Linked DNA regions of Homo sapiens: region 2 is linked to region 1. Evidence: promoter capture Hi-C in human tissues and cell types (Jung and others, 2019). All regions are on one chromosome and are shown on one strand. Each heading gives the region's core, a stretch centred on a gene start or on the middle of the fragment in contact. The rest is flanking DNA. Distances are from core to core; before and after follow the strand shown.

What was found. Contacts are between HindIII fragments. The study calls those that stand out against the background at their distance.
Region 2: a contact is called between a fragment that was not itself captured here and the fragment with the promoter of DMRT2 in region 1, in 2 of the 25 tissues and cell types used here (lymphoblastoid cells and mesenchymal stem cells).

What each region holds. Positions count from the first base shown.
Region 1 is chr9:1,049,107-1,051,606 of GRCh38, reverse strand. It overlaps DMRT2 (doublesex and mab-3 related transcription factor 2), which reads right to left and starts at 1,250. Exons shown (of 4, transcript NM_181872.6): 1 at 832-1,250; 2 at 1-37. RefSeq lists an enhancer at 609-1,478. The HindIII fragment of the contact is 14,990 bases long and covers 1-2,500 here.
Region 2 is chr9:1,088,911-1,094,926 of GRCh38, reverse strand. No RefSeq gene overlaps it. Among named protein-coding and RNA genes, the nearest start is that of DMRT2, 42 kb to the right of the region's middle. The HindIII fragment of the contact is 5,637 bases long and covers 1,786-6,016 here.

The sequences.
Region 1 (2,500 bases), core at 1-2,500:
GGGGCTTCGCTGGGGCCTGAGCCTGGCGGCCCTCACTCTGGGGAAACACAAAGAAATCCAAAGACCCACCGGCCGCCGTCAGGGACCATCCCTGAGCCTCCGGCCCAAAGCTCCTGGTCTGCCCGCCTCCGGCCGCTTGAGTCATCCTGTTCTCATTACATGTCCCTCACTTCCAGGCCACACGTGCCTTTCCTGTATCTCCAGGGCCCCCAGGGATCCACAACCCAACAAAGGTTTTATTTTATTAATTCTAAGTGCTCTGTGAGTACCTGACCTTTAACCGTGGCCCTCTCTGGCTTTACACGGGCTTTCCGGACAAGTCCCTGGGTAACTCACTTATCACACACACACAAAATATTGTGTCCAAATAGGCAGCCCCAGGCCACTTGTCGGATTTCCCCATACTCAACTAGTATGGCCATGATGCATATAAAACTATCCGTGGAAGAACAGTTTTCCTTTGATTACAAGTGGCCCTTCAGACTCACTGAAGTACCACTCTATGCTTCCCAAATGCCTCTCATCAGCCTACACCACCACAAGGACCCCTCCTTGGGCTTGAAGAGGTCCTCTCACCCCCCTCCCCAAAATACTCAACTGAAAACCAAAATTTTGTTGTCATTAGCGTCCCATAAGGGCAAAGAGCACAATACAGACGCCCGTCCAGCCTTAATAGTACCTGAGGTGCACAGGGCTGAGCCGCGTGGGCTCTCTGTACTTAGGCCTTGGTTTATATATTTAAGGTAAGGCATCCAAGTCACACAGAAAAGGTGAAAGATGATTCACGCCCTTTGCCCTCCCTGACACCCCGAGCGGCATCACAGCACTCACCAAAACTTTGAGGCCCGGGCTGGTAGCCCAGTTAAAAGATATCCAGCTTTAGGATCTGGCGCTAGGGCTGCTGGCTGTGCATGCAAACAGAAATCGGGGTCGCTACCCTCAAACACGAGATCGGGAGCTGATAGCTGGAGGCCCGGAACGAACCCACTGGATGGTGGAGGGGGAGGGAGAAGGTAGGTGGAGGGAAGGAGGGAGGAAGCCAGTCAAGTCCTCAGCGACCTAGCCCAGCACATCCCGAACTCTGCAAAGTTCTGCTCGGTCTTCTGCAGCCTCGGGCGCCTCACCTTGCTGAGGCCGCTTTCGGCTTCCTCTGACCCAGGCTGGGCGGGAAAGGTCGGGCCGCCCCCGCCTGGCTCAGATCGCTGGCTCACCCGGCGGGCGCGCGCAGTTGCATTCAGCGCAGCGCCACTGGCTTCAGTCTGCAGACTGCGCTCCCCTTCCTAGTACTGTCCGCTCAGGCCCCGGAGCTTTACGTCCTCTGATTGGCCGGTTGTCAGGCGGTGTGAATACTGATTGGCCGAGGCACGCTGGCAGGGAGCCCTCCGCCTCCCGCGGTCTACACTCTTCTCTCTGAAGCGCTCCGCCAGAGTCCGCCTACCGGGCCTTCGGTGCAGCCGGCTCGCCTGTCCAGAATCTAAACCCGAGGTATGACGGTGCCTGCAAGAGAGAAGTCACCATTTATCTCGCGGACTGGGAAACAAGCAGAGATACATTCTTAGGAATGCGTTGTCCACAAGAGAAGGTAATAAACGACGAGGAAGAGATCAGAAAGACCAGTATTGGCCTCTATCAGCATCACAAGCATTTCTGCGACTCAATCAATCATTAATCCAAACTGGGCGTAAAAATGATGCCTCTCTTTCGGGGCGTACAGCGACATCCTTCTTTCTCCTGCAAGAGTACATCAATGGTTACCTGGCACCGAAACTCCTAGTTAGCATACAAATAGCCTGTTGATATTTCTGTGTCTAGTGCCACCTATTCTCGAAGTGCCAAATAGCTCCTCATTAACCTTCACCGAGCCCGTGTGGCAGGTGGCCAAGTCGACTACAAGTCACTTACATTTTTCTGTTATATCAGTTGCTATTACAGTTAATGTAGGGAAGATCAGAAATGCATGCTATTAAGAGAATTAGGTAAATCCATTCACACTAAGCATGCATTTAAACAAAGTTATTTTTAAAAAGATGACTACTTTTTAGTGTGCGTAGTTGTATTTATAGACTTTCTAACGACTCCCTCAAAAAATCCTTTACAAAATGTTTAACGATAAAAAATTTTCAACATATTAAAAGAAGGAATTAGTCTTCTAATTCAACGCTGCATTCTATTTCTTGAACTCAATTAAAAATAATATGGGCGCTTTTCTAACTGCATCTGTAAATAATCAAGACCTCTCGAGTAGGATCTGTTTAGGAGACTACAAAATTGGGTATCATTGCACTGAGTACATAGTAGGCCCGCAACAAATATTTGTTGAAGGGTGGGAATTCCTGACGTAATCCCAACGTTACTTTTGTCCGAGTTTGTCAGAATGTTAAAAGTTAACCTGGATCAGAGAAGTGGGAACAAAGGCAGCTTAGGAACTACCGCGACCAGCCAGAAGCACTATTCTCAAACCTTCAGTGATGTTGTAAAGTTCCTCCCCGGTGACCAGGCA
Region 2 (6,016 bases), core at 3,355-5,854, 40 kb before region 1:
CTGAAGCACTTGTGGATTGTATTGATTCATAGTGAGGTGTTGGAGATAGGCCTCTGACTCCAAGCTCAGGGCCATTTTTACCATACACGAATACTTTCCCTCCAGTAATACCTGTTGACTGTCTCATTCTAGAGAGAGCTGTCATTTTGAGAAAAAAAAAAATTCTTACAAACTCATTGACTCTAGAATATTAGTAACTGATAATATTTTGGTTTTCCCTAAGGAAACCTGCACTTAAACTAAATACAAATCATGAGATGCCACCTCATACCCATTAAGATGACTGCTTCCAAAAAAAGAAAACATAAAATAAGCTGGTAGTAGGAATATAAAATGGAACAACTGCTATAGAAAGCACTATGGCGGTTCCTCAAAACTTTTAAAGAGAATTACCATCTAGCAGTTCCACTTCTGGACATATACTCAAAAGCACTGAAAACAGGAACACAAATATTTGTACACCAATGTTCATAGCAGCATTATTCACAACAGCCAGCAGGTAGACATAACCCACATGTCCACCAGAAAATGAAGATGAATAGATAAACATATTGTGGTATATACATACAATGGAATATTATTTAGGCTTAAGAAGAAAGAAAATTCAGACATATGCTACAGCATAGGTGAATCTTGAGGACATTGTGCCAAGGTGAAATAAACCAGTAACAAAAGGATAAATATTGTATGTTCACTTACATGAGGTCCTGCACCTAGAGCAGTCAAATCCGTAGAGACAGAAAATAGAATGGCGGCTGTCAGGGTCTTGGGGAGGGGGAATTGGAGAGTTATTGTTTAATGGGTACAGAGTTTCAGTTTTGCAAGATGAAAAGTTTTGTAAATGAACGGTGGTGATGGTAGCACAACAATGTTAATGTACTTAATGCCACTGAATTGGACAACTGGCCCATGAAGAGTATGGAGTTTACAGTACTGACCTGTCCCCCATACAGTCAAAAATTCGAATATAACTTTTGACTACCCCAAAACTTCACTACAAATAGCCTATTGTTGACTAGAAGCCTTACCAATAACATAAACAGTCTATTAACACATATTTTGTATGTCATATGTATCATATACTATATTCTTACAATAAAGTAAGCTAGAGAAAAGAAAATGTCATTAAGAAAATCATCACGAAGAGAAAATACATTTACAGTACTGTACTGTATTTATCAATACTCTAAGTTTATGTTATCTGTTTACAAGATCTGACACAGCAGGCAACCACAGCTGCAGACCTCAATCTGTGGTACATATCAAGCAGTTCAGCTTTTTCTTGTAAAGTCATGACTTTTCTCTGCTTCTTGGGAGCATTTCTGGCATCACTAGTAGCACTTTGCATAGGTCCCACGGTGTTGTTCAAGGTTTACAGTATTGTCATTATAAAATAAAAATAAAGCTCTTAGGCCCTCCAGGCAGAATGAAATGGACTGCCTGTGGCAAGAGATCCCAGAAAACCTTTTAAGCTGTATTCTACAGCTTTGGCAACGCAAGAGGTCAGTCATGCCTCAACTCTCCCCTATCTCATTAACCACCTCAAGACTTTCCTACAATTAAAGAAAAACCAGTTCCTAAAAAACTATGTCTGGAAGACTTCCCCTGCAACCTCGACAGACCATCCGACATTGTGGTCCACCTCCCTCCTGTCTGTATCAAAGTTTCACTCTTACACACGGCCAGCCTTGCAAAGCATTCCATCCTAATAACTGTCCACCAACCACAGACAGATTCTGGCCAGTTTACAGAAACTGTGCACTAAGTGCCTTTATGCCCTATGTTTCACCTTTTGGTGTATAGAGCCTAATTTTACTGCATTTGGATGTTAAGTCTCTACCTCAAAGTGAACATGGGTTGTATGTAATATATGTGTATTCACTATGCATGTGTTAGACTCCCTCATAAATATTAACAAGATGCTCCTATAACCTACTGAATATATGTATAGCTAATCATACTGGGCATAAATCTCAGCATCTCTCCCTTTTGTCTCTGAAGTGTCTGCTTTTGGTTTTGGCCAGAGACTCCTCTTTCCAGTCTGCAGGTTGTAACCCTTTATAAGAAATAAAGTTCGCTGGGCGCGGTGGCTCACGCCTGTAATCCCAGCACTTTGGAAGGCCGAGGCGGGCGGATCACGAGGTCAGGAGTTGGAGACCATCCTGGCCAATATGGTGAAACCCTGTCTCTACTAAAAATGCAAAAATTAGCTGGGCTTGGTAGCGCGCGCGCCTGTAGTCCCAGCTACTCGGGAGGCTGAGGCAGCAGAGTCGCTTGAACCCGGGAGGCGGAGGTGGCAGGCAGCCGAGATCGCGCCACTGCACTCCAGCCTGGGCGACAGCGTGAGACTCCGTCTCAAAAAAAAAAAAAAAGAAAAAAAGAAAAAAGAAAAAAGAATTTACTCGAGAGGTGAAATGCTCACACAGAGATGATTAGCATCACATGGTGTTTTAAGCAGATACTTACAATATTTGAGCAACAGGAGGTGGCTATGAAATTATTACAATAGTACAGAATGTAGTACAGTTAATTTTATGCAGTTATGATTTAATACTGCATCTTTATGTTTGTTTACATTTCTCTAGACTGTAAACGGTACCATATATGGTCTGTGTTTGTATGTGTGAGTTTTGATAAATTTTAACTTTTTATAATAGATTTGTGTATATTTTATGGTAGTGTGTGACAAAATAGACTAGTATCTACATATATTTTATGCATTCATGATATACCGTTTTCTTTTTTCAATATTTCCAGGCTATAGGGGTTCATCTGCAAGTTTTTGCAAATTGTTACAAATTTCCAAAAAATTGTCTAATGTATTTATTGGGAAAAAAATCCACATATAAGTGGATCTGTGTAGTTCAAACCCGTGTTGTTCAAGGGTCAACTGGATAATTTCAAAAAGTTAAACTGGTAAATTTTATGTTATATATATTTTACCACAATTTTTCAAATGTATTTTAAACAACAAAGAAAAGAAACACAACCCAACTTGTAACATTCCTATTCACTTCTGATAGGCAAAATATTAGAGATAATACAATCAGGGTGACTTCCTTGCTACTGCTCAAACCATATCCCAAAAGTAATCCTGAACTCCATATGGAATCTTGGAACACAGTTGGAAATTAAACTAAAGAGTAAATGTTTTTCAGTCCCCACCAGTTCAGGGTACTATAGAGGGGTGATTTCTTAAGGAATATTATTATAAACATATCATATTGGGGAATTGAGATGTTAAAGTTTTAGCAAAATTGAAATTGTTAGGTTTGGCATATTCTATTTTGAGTAAGGAAACAAAACCCTCTGTTCCCCAATAAATGGCTCCTCTTTTTATAATTCTGTTACTAAACCTACAAGCAAAAGGCAGTTAAGCCAACAACAAGTAGGAAGTCTTCACTCCTAATGAGTCAGTCTTGGGGACCAATATGCCCTTCAGGAATGCTATTATTTCATTCTCCTAGGGAAATAGAGATGTCATGGGTCAAATGTTGACTGCCGAAACTCATCAGAATTTTTTGTTGTTTTTTCTTTTCTTTTTTTTTTTTTTTTTTTTTTTTGATACAGGGTCTCACTCTGTCACCCAGGCTCCAGTGCAGTGGCGACCTCCTGTGCTCAAGCAATCCTCCTGCCTCAGCCTCCCAAGTAGCTGAGACTACAGGTGTGTGTCACCATACCTGGCTCATTTTTGTATTTTTTGTAGATATGGAGTCCCACTATGTCGCCCAGGCTCATCAGTATTTTTGACAAATGACCACATGTACTAAATTTTTCTGCAGTATTTTTCAATATGGAAATAATTGCATGCTTACTAAGAAGATGTAAAAATCATACAGAGAACTTTCATATACCCTTTATTCAGTTTCACTAATTTTTTCCATATTGGCATATTTTCTTTTTCTTCTACCAATATTCACTTTATCGTCGGTTTCTTTTCTTAACCATTTGTGAACACTCCTTTTCTCAATACTTTAGTATGTGTTTCTTAAGAGCAAGGATATTCTTTTACAATGCTACACTAGCTACACAATTCAGGAAATCCAAAATAGATGATAATAGTTTTATCTAATCTACCACCAATAATCCAGTTTTGTCAATTATACCAATAATGTCTTTTAGAACATTTCTCTCTCCTGTACAGGATACTGTCAAGAATCACATGTTGGATTTTATATGTTACATCTTTTCAATCTCTTTAAATCTGGAACAGTTAGTTCCTCAGTCTTTCAGCAGGGGTCAGCTATTCTATACAATGCTCCTCAATTTGAGGTTGGCTGATGTTTCCTTATGATTAAATTCAAACTGCATATACTACACATATTACTACAGTATACTACAGAACACCACATAAAGTGGTGTTGTGTCCTTCTCAAAATATCACATCTGGAGGCATATGAGTCCATCACTGGTGATATTAATTTTTACTACTAGATCAAGGTGTTGTCCACTTTCTCCACTATACATTTACTACACTCCTCCCTTCCATCTAATAGGTAATCTAGGAGTAAACATTTTAAGACCATGAAAATGTCATGATCTGCATCAATATTTATACCCTAGATATAGTATCCACTGATGATTCAAGCCTAAAACAATCTTTGTTATGATTATTGCAAAATAGTTATTTTTTCCAACCATACCACTCCCTCCATATTTATAGGTTGGTATTCTACCTCAAGTAAAAGCTTCTTTTCTCCCGTATTTTTATTTATTTTTCTATTATTTATTATCAGCACAAACTTGTGAATTATTTTATTCAATGGATTTCCATAAATTACTGTTCTTTTGATGCTCAAATTTTTCTAAATTTGGCCAGCTACAGCCCCTTCAAGCTGATTCCTATAGCCTTTTCACAGGTCTCCATTACTTTGTATGAGGACTTTTTTACTTTCTGGCATAATAACGTGTTCCAAGCTTATCTCTTACTTTCTCTGTTCTAGTTGGAATCACTCATTTCTCAAAGGACCTCTGGTTCATTTTCTTTTTTCACAAATTTGTATATACTGAGATAGAACTATTTCAGTGTTTTTGATGACTGACTAGGTTTCATTTTCATATCTCCTTTGTATTATCATTAGAAATCTTTTAAGGAACATACTATGGCATGTGGAAAAGACCTGCGCTTTGGAACGAGACCTGGGCTTTGGAAAGAGTCCTGGCATTAGCACTTTCTAGCTGCAAGAACCTGGGCAAGTTACCTAACTTCATTAAGCCTTTGTTTCTTCCTCTTTAAAGCAGGCAAAATAATGACCACCTCACAGTGTTGTTATGAGGTTTAAGCTTTAAAATGGCTTCTGAGCCTGACACATAAAAAGTACTCAGTAAATTTAAGTGACTTTTTCCTCTTTTAATTACACCACCTTACCATCTTAATGTGATTACTTCTCTCCCTACCCCTTCCATTGCTTCCTCTGAAGCCCTGGAGAACCACTGATTACCTGCCCCTGGTATTGTTCATTGAAATTTTCCCATAATGTCTAATTCTCACTTCAGCCCATCAGGATTCCTTGGCACAGGACACATGCCTAATAATCCCCCTCCTTGCCCCTTCCGTTCGTTCTTTAGAGTGAGAGGCAATATGGTATGAAGGACAAAAATCACTTGATTATATAAAAACATGCAGACAAAGCATTTGATGAAGTTCAGTGACCCCAGAGAGTTATGAATCTTAGGTAATTTCCTTGGCTTAAAATAGGCTACATATCAAAAACCTACACTAAGCATCACATGTAACAGAGAAATGTATTCCCAATAATATTGGACACAAGACAAGAATTCCTGTTATCATTTCTCCACTTAACATAGTACAAAAAGAACTAACCAATGCTGTAGGCAAGAAAAAGACATTAGATGCGTAAGGATTAGATGGGGAAAGTAAACTTACTATTTTCAGACAAAAGTATTATCCACGCAGAAGATTCAACAGAATTAACAAACTATTAGAATTAGTAAGAGTTTGACAAGGTTGTTCTATTATAGGATAAAATTTACAAAACACAATAATATTCCTCTG